3 separate regions of the Homo sapiens genome follow, and all the other regions are linked to region 1. The links are contacts of gene promoters, found by promoter capture Hi-C in human tissues and cell types (Jung and others, 2019). All regions are on one chromosome and are shown on one strand. The core of a region is centred on a gene start or on the middle of the fragment in contact, and the rest is flanking DNA. Distances in the headings are between cores, read along the strand shown. Region 1 holds the start of TMEM221 (transmembrane protein 221). Region 2 holds the start of ARRDC2 (arrestin domain containing 2). Region 3 holds the start of MPV17L2 (MPV17 mitochondrial inner membrane protein like 2).

What was found. The method cuts DNA at HindIII sites, captures the fragments that hold promoters and counts their contacts. A contact is called where the count stands out against the background at its distance.
Region 2: the fragment with the promoter of ARRDC2 here is called in contact with the fragment with the promoter of TMEM221 in region 1 in 1 of the 25 tissues and cell types used here (IMR-90 fibroblasts).
Region 3: a contact is called between the fragment with the promoter of MPV17L2 here and the fragment with the promoter of TMEM221 in region 1, in 2 of the 25 tissues and cell types used here (mesendoderm cells and thymus).

What each region holds. Positions count from the first base shown.
Region 1 is chr19:17,446,894-17,449,964 of GRCh38, forward strand. TMEM221 (transmembrane protein 221) reads right to left here and starts at 1,775. Exons shown (of 3, transcript NM_001190844.2): 1 at 1,250-1,775. The coding sequence starts at 1,569. RefSeq lists a silencer at 1,789-1,908. The HindIII fragment of the contact is 11,612 bases long and covers 1-3,071 here.
Region 2 is chr19:18,006,657-18,009,948 of GRCh38, forward strand. It overlaps ARRDC2 (arrestin domain containing 2), which reads left to right and starts at 1,514. Exons shown (of 8, transcript NM_015683.2): 1 at 1,514-1,928; 2 at 2,055-2,121; 3 at 2,315-2,462; 4 at 2,936-3,038; 5 at 3,127-3,292. The coding sequence starts at 1,655. RefSeq lists an enhancer at 1,568-1,787. The HindIII fragment of the contact is 21,109 bases long and covers 1-2,699 here.
Region 3 is chr19:18,191,933-18,194,841 of GRCh38, forward strand. It overlaps MPV17L2 (MPV17 mitochondrial inner membrane protein like 2), which reads left to right and starts at 1,286. Exons shown (of 5, transcript NM_032683.3): 1 at 1,286-1,536; 2 at 1,932-2,102; 3 at 2,845-2,909. The coding sequence starts at 1,350. RefSeq lists a silencer at 811-990 and an enhancer at 1,381-1,430. The HindIII fragment of the contact is 8,354 bases long and covers 1-2,909 here.

The DNA.
Region 1 (3,071 bases), core at 525-3,024:
GCTAATTATTATTTTTTCTTTTTGTAGAGGCAAGGTCTTGCTATATTACCCAGGCTGGTCTCAAATTCCTGGCCTCCCAGCACTTTGGGAGGCCAAGGTGGGTGGGTCATTTGAGGTCAGGAGTTCAAGACCAGCCTGGCCAACATGGTGAAACCCCGCCTCTACTAAAAATACAAAAATTAGCTGGGTATGGTGGTGGGCACCTGTAATCCCAGCTACTCGGGAGGCTAAGGTGGGAGAATCGCTTGAACCCAAGAGGTGGAGGCTGCAGTGAACCGAGATAGCGCCACTGCACTCCAGCCTGGGTGACAGAGCAAGACTCTGTCTCAAAAAAAAAAAAAGAAAAAAAAATTCCTGGCCTCAAATGATCCTCCTGCCTCTGCCTCCCAAAGGGCTGGGATTGCAGGTGTGAACCACCATGCCTTGTCCTTGTTATGTTTCCTTATTTTCTGTGACCCCATGAGAGCAGGTCTGGGTCCACTTGGTCCCCGCTGTCTCTGATGCCCTGAGCCAGATCCATTCCCCTGCAGGCAGGCACCCAACAGATGTTTGCTGACCCGTGGGACCCATGCATTTCATTGTCCCTTGGGTGGAAGGTGCATGGTCTGGATAGGATCTACCTCAATGGTGGGAGTTCTCATCTGCTCAATTTCACAGAATTCTGGACTAGAATTTGGGCTCCTCTCCCCCGACATTCTGGAGAGAAACACTACCATGTGGGACAGCGGAGTCCTCAGCTCAAGGAGGGTTCCTCCTTCCACAACCACTGCCCCTGATAGGGGTCCCTCAATGACCACATCCCTGACTGAGTTCAGGTCCCTGAGGAAGGAACTCAATTTCAGACCAGGACACAGGCTCTGGCTGGCTCTACCCAGAACCAAGTTCAAGTCCAGCACTGTCCCGCCTCCCACCCACTTCCAAGCCAGACAGCCTGAGAGCTCAGCCTCCCCTGTTTGAGATCCAGGCAAGCTGATCCTGGACCCTCTTTGAGCCTCAGTTTCCTCATCTGCAAAATGCGAGACACAGCAGTGGTTGCACCTGCTGCAAAATTGAACAAATATAGAATGGAGGGAGGGAAGGAGGGAGGAGGAGAGGAAAGGAGGGAGGCAGAGAGACATGGAGTGGTGGGGAGAGGGAAGTGGGGAGGGAAGCTGTCCCCCCAGCCTGAGGCCAAAAGAGGGGAAGAGGCTCAACCAGGCTCACCCAGCCCCCAGCCGGGCCTCCGAGGCGGTGAGGCCAGTCCTCCTACCTCCTGGGGCCAGGCCCCCGCGCCAGCTCGGCGCCCAGGTGGCCACAGAGCGCGGCGAGCAGCAAGCAGGTGAACCCCAGCACGAGCACCAGCGCGGCCAGCGCGGCGGCCAGCGGCAGCAGCGTCCCGGCCGCGTCCTCTGGCAGCCCGGGGCCGGCGCCCAGCTCCTGGCCCAGCCCCTCGGCGCGCAGCCCCCGCAGCTCGGCGCGGCCCGCCTGCAGCTGAAACAGCAGCTGCGCGCCCAGCGCCGCCAGCACGGCCGCCGCGATGCCCAGCAGGGTCATTGCAGCCAGCACCCGGCCGCCGTAAGAACGGGCCATGGCGGGGGTTCCTGCGGGCCGGGGGAAGAGTTGAGGAATTGAAGTGGTTTTAGAGGGCAGGGGAGTTGGGGGGAATCCGAGGGTCCTCAGGGGGTCCCCGAGGGGGCGGGGCCGCAGGGAGTGTCTGAAAGTTCGGGGACTGGGCTGGGGGTCGCCAGACGGACGGGGGCTCCGGGGTGCTGGTCGCAGCCGGGACGCCGAATCTCCGCGAAAACTTGGGACAAAGTCTTTTCTCCTCCCTCCCGGGGCCCCGCGGGCGCCCCCTCTTGGTCCGCTGGGCCTGGCGGGGCGGGGCCTGGCACCGGGCGCAGGGCGGGGAGGCCCCACTAGGGACTGGATCGCGGGAACCCCACAGCTCGCTAAGTTCAGAAAAGGGCACCACCCCGCCCCCTGCCGCCCTAAGCATCGATTGTATTGTGGTTTAAAACAAGAAAAAGGAGGCCGGGGGCGGTGGCTCTCGCCTGTAATCCCAGCACCTTGGGAGGCCGAGGCGGGCGGATCACAAGGTCAAGAGTTCCAGACCAGCCTGGCCAATATGGTGAAACCCCGTCTCTACTAAAAATACAAAAATTAGCCGGGCGTGGTGGCCGGAGCCTGTAATCCCAGCTACTCGGGAGGCTGATGCAGGAGAATTGCTTGAACCCAGGAGGCGGAGGTTTCAGTGAGCTGAGATTACGCCATTGCACTGCAGCCTGGGCGACAGAGCGAGACTCCGTCTCAAAATTAATTAATTAATTAATTAAAAAATAAAAAATAAAGAGAAAGGAGGCCGGGCGCGGTGGCTCTCGCTTGTAATCTCAGCACTTTAGGAGTCCGAGGTGGGCGGATCACTTGAGGTCAGGAGTTCAAGACCAGCCTGGCCAACATGGTGAAACCCCCGTCTCTACTAAAAAAAAAAAAAAAAAAAAAAATTAGCCCGGCGTAGTGGTGCATGGCCTGTAATCCTAGCTACTCGGGAGGCTGAGGTTGGAGGAATGCTTGAATCAGGGAGGCGGAGGTTGCAGTGAGCCGAGATTGCACCACTGCACACTCCAGCCTGGCTGACAGAGTAAGACTCCATCAAAAAAAAAAAAAAAAAAAAAGAGAGAGAGAGAGAAAGGGCTGGGTGAGGTGGTTCACAACTGTAATCCCAGCACTTTGGGAGGCTGAGGCAGGAGGATGGCTTAAGCCCAGGAGTTTGAGACCAGCCTGGGCAACATAGCCAGACCCCATCTCTACAAAAAATAAGGAAGTCAGCCTGGTGTGGTGGTGCACGCCTGTGGACCCAGCTACTTTCGGGACTGAGACAGGAGGATCGCTTGAGCCCAGGAGGTCGAGGCTGCAGTGAACTGAGATCACGCCACTGCACTCCAGCCTGAGTGACAGAGCGAGGCTGTGTCTCAAAAAAGAAATAACAAAATTTAAAAATTCACTTTTCATTTGATCTCAACCCAGGGACTCTGTCATTGGCTGTGATTTCCCCTCTGCTTACTTCCTTCAAGCCTTTGGGTAACCGTTGCTTC
Region 2 (3,292 bases), core at 264-2,763, 560 kb after region 1:
CTTAAAAATTGTTAAATTGTTATACATTTAAGGAAAAAACAGTGACACTGGAGGGGCGAGGCCAGTGGAGGTGCTGTGTGACCTCGGGCAGAGCCCCACCCATCTCTGGGCCTTTGGGGTCCGTCTGCGAAATGAATTGAGGGAGGCGCTGGCTCAGTAGTCCCTTCAGGGTTACCTAATCCCGCTTCTCCTCCCGGACTTAACGGCCTACTGTCTCCCCTCTAGTATCCATTGAAACCTGGCCTAAGGTCCCAGACCTTCCTTTCAACTCCAAAGACCCATCCTCCCAGGCAGCCTTCCAGGCTGATCACTGTGCCTCCAACTCCGTCGTTCCTGTTCCGATCCCCATCACGGGCTGAGGGTGACCGTGTTTGTTTATGACCGCCCCCTCCACCCACACACCTCACTGAGGTGGTGGAAGTCTCCTGAGCCAGGCTCAGAGGCGGACAGTCACGGCAGGGGATGGGTTCAGCGGCAGCGCATTACGCTGCCACGAGAGGGCGCCAGCGTCCCGCAGACGACGCAGAGGCAACTCCCGCTGGAGAAACTCCATGCGACTTTTCTTTGGGGAAACTGAAGCCCAGAGAGAGGTCACGCCGTCCCGTGGCCACACCGCAGCTGTGGACCTGGGGGTGCCCGAGCGTCCCCTGCATTCAGCTCTGTGGCGGGACGGGGGCTGAGGATGACTGGAGCAGGCACAAGGGCTGCGGGGAAGGTAGGGTTTGCCAGAGGCTGAAAATTGGGAAGGGAACATCATTTCGTAGGTACCGCTCCTGGGCGAATGCGCCGAGGCGCGACCGAGTGACGGTATGTCAAGAGCAGGTTGATGACCCGGGAGCGAGGCTCTTGGAGGAGTCCAGCTGGGGCTGCACGATGATCCATGCACAACCTTCTGAGGTCAGGACTGATTTTTACTTTCTCCCGGCTCTACAGAGGTGGAAACTGAGGCTCCAAGAGGTTGTCATTTGCCCAGAGCCACCAGCTAAGCGGGACTTGAATCAGGAAAGGGGTGCAGCAGGCACCAGTGTGGAGGGCGGTCCCACCCACCTCCTCCACTTCTCCCTTTGCATAGCGGGGGAAACAGGCCTGGAACAGTCATAGGCTCTCTGGCCCTCAACTGGGGCGAGAGTCCCCCGCCCCAAATCGGGCTGGACATGCCTCGAGTCACGTCAACGAGGGGCGGCTGGTGAGTGATTAAGCCGAGAGGCTGAAGGCTCTGCTAGGTGACCTCAGGCCTGGGCCCTGCCTCTGCACCTCTTTTTTTCCTCTTTACCCCCGGGGTCCGCGAGAGACCAGCTCTGGCAGCCTAAGGGCTTCAGTTTCTCCCCGGGGTCCGCGAGGGAAGGGGGCAGCCGGCGGTGAGCAGGGGCGTTTGTTATTTTGCTCCACGCCTGGGCAGAGCCACGCCCCTTGTCGCGCTATTGGTGGAGTCCCTTCCCGGGGCGGGGAAGAGACGGTGACCCCACCCCCCCCCGCCCTGCCGTATAAAAGCGGCGCCGACGCACGGCGCGGGGATTTTCTGCTCCGGTTGGTGAGCGCGCCTGCGCGTTGACGGCGATTTTGCGTTCTGAGGCTGCAGCGTCGGCATCTTGAGCTGCCGGTTCGCGAGTTCGAGGCCAGGTTCCGCCTGTCGTGGGTTCGCACCCCGGACGCGATGCTATTCGACAAGGTGAAAGCGTTCTCGGTGCAGTTGGACGGCGCGACCGCGGGCGTCGAGCCCGTGTTTAGCGGCGGCCAGGCCGTGGCGGGCCGGGTGCTGCTGGAGCTGTCAAGCGCCGCGCGTGTGGGTGCCCTGAGGCTGCGCGCGCGGGGCCGCGCCCACGTGCACTGGACCGAGTCGCGCAGCGCGGGCTCGAGCACGGCTTACACGCAGAGCTACAGTGAACGCGTGGAGGTCGTGAGCCACCGCGCCACGCTCCTGGCGCCAGGTACGGATGGAGGACCCCTGCTCCAACACCAGTTGTGTGCCTCCCACCACCTGGACGGCGGTACCTCCGTCAGCCCTGGGACCCCAGCGCAACCGCTCAGTCGCCTCCTTTTTCTCCTACCTGCAGATACCGGGGAGACCACGACGCTGCCTCCTGGGCGCCATGAGTTCCTGTTCAGCTTCCAGCTGCCCCCGTAAGTCCTCTGGGGTGCAGGGTTGCCCTAAGCCTGCAGCCCCTTCCAGATTGGTACCTCCAATACTGGATATCTGGGCACCTCTGAGCCCCAAGACTCTCCCCCTGGGAGGCCCCCGGAGTGTCTGTGTCTCCTTCTCCCTGCCTGCTTGTCTCTGTATCTTGTCCCCTGAAGTCCCGTCCCTCCACCCTAGGACCCTGGTGACATCCTTCGAGGGCAAACACGGTAGTGTCCGCTACTGTATCAAGGCCACCCTGCACCGGCCCTGGGTCCCAGCACGCCGGGCAAGGAAGGTGTTCACTGTCATCGAGCCTGTGGACATCAACACGCCAGCCCTGCTGGTGAGTGGCCACCCTTGGGGAGGTAGGTTGGGAGTATTGTAGGAAGGGGCCTGCCTGGCTGCTGGGCGACACCAACCAATAAGATGGAGGTCATAGGTGGGCCCTGGCAGGGAGGGAGGCAGGTGTGGGAATGCGTGTGGAATCCACTGGGATCTGCACCCATTTGCCGTGTGACTCTGGGCAAGTGTCTTGAAGCCCTCTCTGAGCCTCAGATGCCTCTTCTGTGAAATAGACCAGAGCTAGGGCTTACCAAGTGTGAATTACACACCAAACACTTGGCTTATACATTTCATTTCTGGCTTTATAAGATGGGTTGTGTTCCTGGCTCTATTTAACGGATAGTTCCTGGATTGTTAAAAAGAAACCAAGCCCTGCCCAAAGTCCTCCCTCAGCTGGGGGTGGTTTGGAAGCTCCACAGCGACTGTGGTTTGCACAAAGTGACTCATCCATGTCACTTTCCTCTACACCGACAGGCACCTCAAGCGGGGGCTCGGGAAAAGGTTGCCCGATCCTGGTACTGTAACCGTGGCCTAGTCTCCCTTTCGGCCAAGATCGACCGCAAGGGCTACACCCCAGGTAGCAGGCGGACCGGACTGGGTTGGGACGGGGGCTGGTGTTGGGGTTGCAGGAGGGGAAACTGAGGCCCCACTGCTCCTTGCTGCAGGAGAGGTCATCCCTGTCTTTGCCGAGATCGACAACGGCTCCACACGTCCTGTGCTGCCTCGGGCAGCCGTGGTGCAGACACAGACGTTCATGGCCCGAGGCGCCCGAAAGCAGAAACGGGCAGTGGTGGCCAGCCTCGCGGGCGAGCCGGTGGGCCCCGGGCAGCG
Region 3 (2,909 bases), core at 36-2,535, 740 kb after region 1:
GGCAGGGAACATAAGGCCAAATCAAATGGAAACAATTCAGCTATGACAGGAAATATCTTCTCCATTTAAAGAGGGCATACATCCAGTAAATGACTTTGTAACTTTACTTCATCCTCTTCATTTACATAGGACGTACATTAAGTAACCAGTGAAAACCTCTAGAGGGCATTTAAACCCCAGAAAATTCTTAAACAGGTCTCTTGAGTCCGTATGCTCCACTGGCTCCCACCCTGCGGAGTGTACTTTCGTTTTCAATAAATCTCTGCTTTTGTTAAGCTTCATTCTTTCCTTGCTTTGTTTGTGCACTTTGTCCAATTCTTTGTTCAAGATGCCAAGAACCTGCACACCTTCAACAGTTAACAGCCCACAGGCAGTAGTTTGCGACTCTAGTAGAGAATGCATAGGGATTTCCATTGAAAATCATTTTTTAAGCCAGTTACGGTGGTTCACGCCTATCATCATCCCAGCACCTTGGGAGGCCAAGGCGGGTGGATCTCTTGAGGTCAGGAGTTCGAGACCAGCCTGGCTAACATGGCAAAACCCCTGTCTAGACCAAAAATACAAAATTAGTTGGGCGTGGTGGCCCGTGCCTGTAATCCCAGCTGTTTGGGAGGCTGCGACACGAGAATCGCTTGAACCCGGGAGGGAGAGGTTGCGGTGAGCCGAGATCGCGCCACCGCACTCCAGCCTGGGTGACAGAGCGAGACTCCATTTCAAAAAAAGAAAAAAAATAATTGTTCCCTACGGGAACGGTATAATTAGGATATAATTGTTTCTGGCCACAGATCACATCCCTTCTGGTTAAGTCCAGGAGAATCTGGAAATACGTAGGGCAACCAGGCCAGAAGGCGTTGTAACTGCCTAAGATTGACCAACCCTAACGCGGGAGGCGGGACGACGGTCACTGATTTGCCAGCGTGACGCCGGTCTGCGACTGGCCAGTGCCGTCCTGGGCGTGTCGGTAGGACGGGGCTGCGACGGTTTCCCATAGGCTGGCACAGAAAGGGGCGGGGAAACAAGAGTGCAACGTTACCAATCGGCATGCGGGACGTAACGCAATTCTTTTTTCCGATTGGTCCGTGAAGCTCGGGAGGTCGTTGGGGGCTCGACCTTGGGATAGAACGCCTGCCTTTTATTGGTCAATACTCTTCGGGCCGGGCAATGTGGCTCCCCGAGGCTGCCTGCGATTGGTGAACGCGTCGCGGCTCGGGGCGGACCTGCGGACTGAAGATCCTTATGCGATTGGCCGGGGAGCCGGAGGGGCGGGCAATTTGGGATCGACAGTGACTCGCGACTGGTCGGCGCGGCGAAAGCAGAGCGGCGCGCCGGTTCCTTGGTTCCTGAGGGCGATGGCGCGGGGTGGCTGGCGCCGGCTACGCCGCCTGTTATCCGCGGGGCAGCTTCTATTCCAGGGCCGCGCGCTGCTCGTCACTAACACGCTGGGCTGCGGCGCGCTCATGGCGGCCGGTGATGGCGTGCGCCAGTCCTGGGAGATCCGCGCCCGGCCCGGCCAGGTTTTCGACCCACGGCGCTCCGGTGAGGACGCCACGCTGCTTAGTCCTTCACCCCGGGCGACCTTTGATCCCGACACCCGACTGCGGGCCGTGACCCCTGACCCGTGGCCTCAGTCCCCCGCAGGACCCTTGCCCTGACCGCGCCTCTCCCCGGGTGTCTGTCTCCCCGCAGCTCTGGGTCTCCATCACCTCCCAACCCCCGGAGGTCTCTGCCCACTACCCAGGAGCCTCTGGAGCCGCGCCTCCTGGTGGGGCTTGTAGTGGAAGAATGCACGGGTGGGCTCTTCCGGTTTTCCCGGTGAGGCTGAGGCTCCGGGATGGCATTGGGCTTACCCAGGCCTTAGCCAGGGAGGGAGAGAGGGAATGGACTGAGGAACTTGCCGGCCCGACCCAGCCCCCTGACTTACACTCTTATAGCGAGCATGTTTGCGGTGGGCTGCAGCATGGGTCCCTTCCTGCACTACTGGTACTTGTCGCTGGACCGCCTATTCCCTGCGTCTGGCCTCCGAGGCTTCCCAAATGTCCTCAAGAAGGTCCTCGTGGATCAGCTGGTAGCCTCTCCATTGCTGGGCGTCTGGTACTTCTTGGGTAAGGAGCCTCCTAAGCCTAGGCTTTGCCTCTCATAGGTCGGGAGGGGTGGAGCCAGCTTTGTGTTAAGAAGGATGCAGAGGTGCATTTCCAATTTGCCCCCTGTTTGGGTCGCCCTGGACTAGGAGCCAGGTCACAGCGGGGACAGGACGGACTCGGCCGATGTGAACGCTGGCGAGTGTAGGAGGGACGAGGACTGTATCTGTTGGGGCTGCCCTGGGCGGGAGGTTGAGAGCATTTCCCAAAGAAGGGGACCACACTCAGTTGAGACATGAAGAGGGAACCAGCGGGCAGAGGGAACAGCTAATGCAAAGGCTCTGAGGCCTGAAGGAAGAGAAATTGAGGCTAGACTTAATGGGGTGCAACCGTGCCAGCCCTAGGCTCGGTAAAGACAGCGGTATTAATAGAGGAGTCTCTCATTCTCCACCTCCCAGCCCGGCTTCCTGGTCTGTGATGGAAAAGTAACACAACTCCCTCAACTTCAGGGTGTCTCCATTGGGGCACGTGTTTATATGTTTATAACCTCTCTTTCTCTCACTGGGACTGACTTGCTCTGTTTTGTCTCTACACCAGCTACCCTAATTCTCTGTCCATCCCATCTGAAAGTCCCTGTCCCTCTGCCCGGGGTGGGCGGCGTGGGCTCTCAGGGGCCCAACCCCGCCCCCTCCATCGTCAGCCCATCTTGTCGTCTCAACAGTACTTCCTGGCCTCTAACACTCTCATTTCTTGGTTTGCTTCCCAGGCCTTGGCTGCCTGGAGGGTCAGACAGTGGGTGAGAGCTGCCAGGAGCTGCGGGAGAAGTTCTGG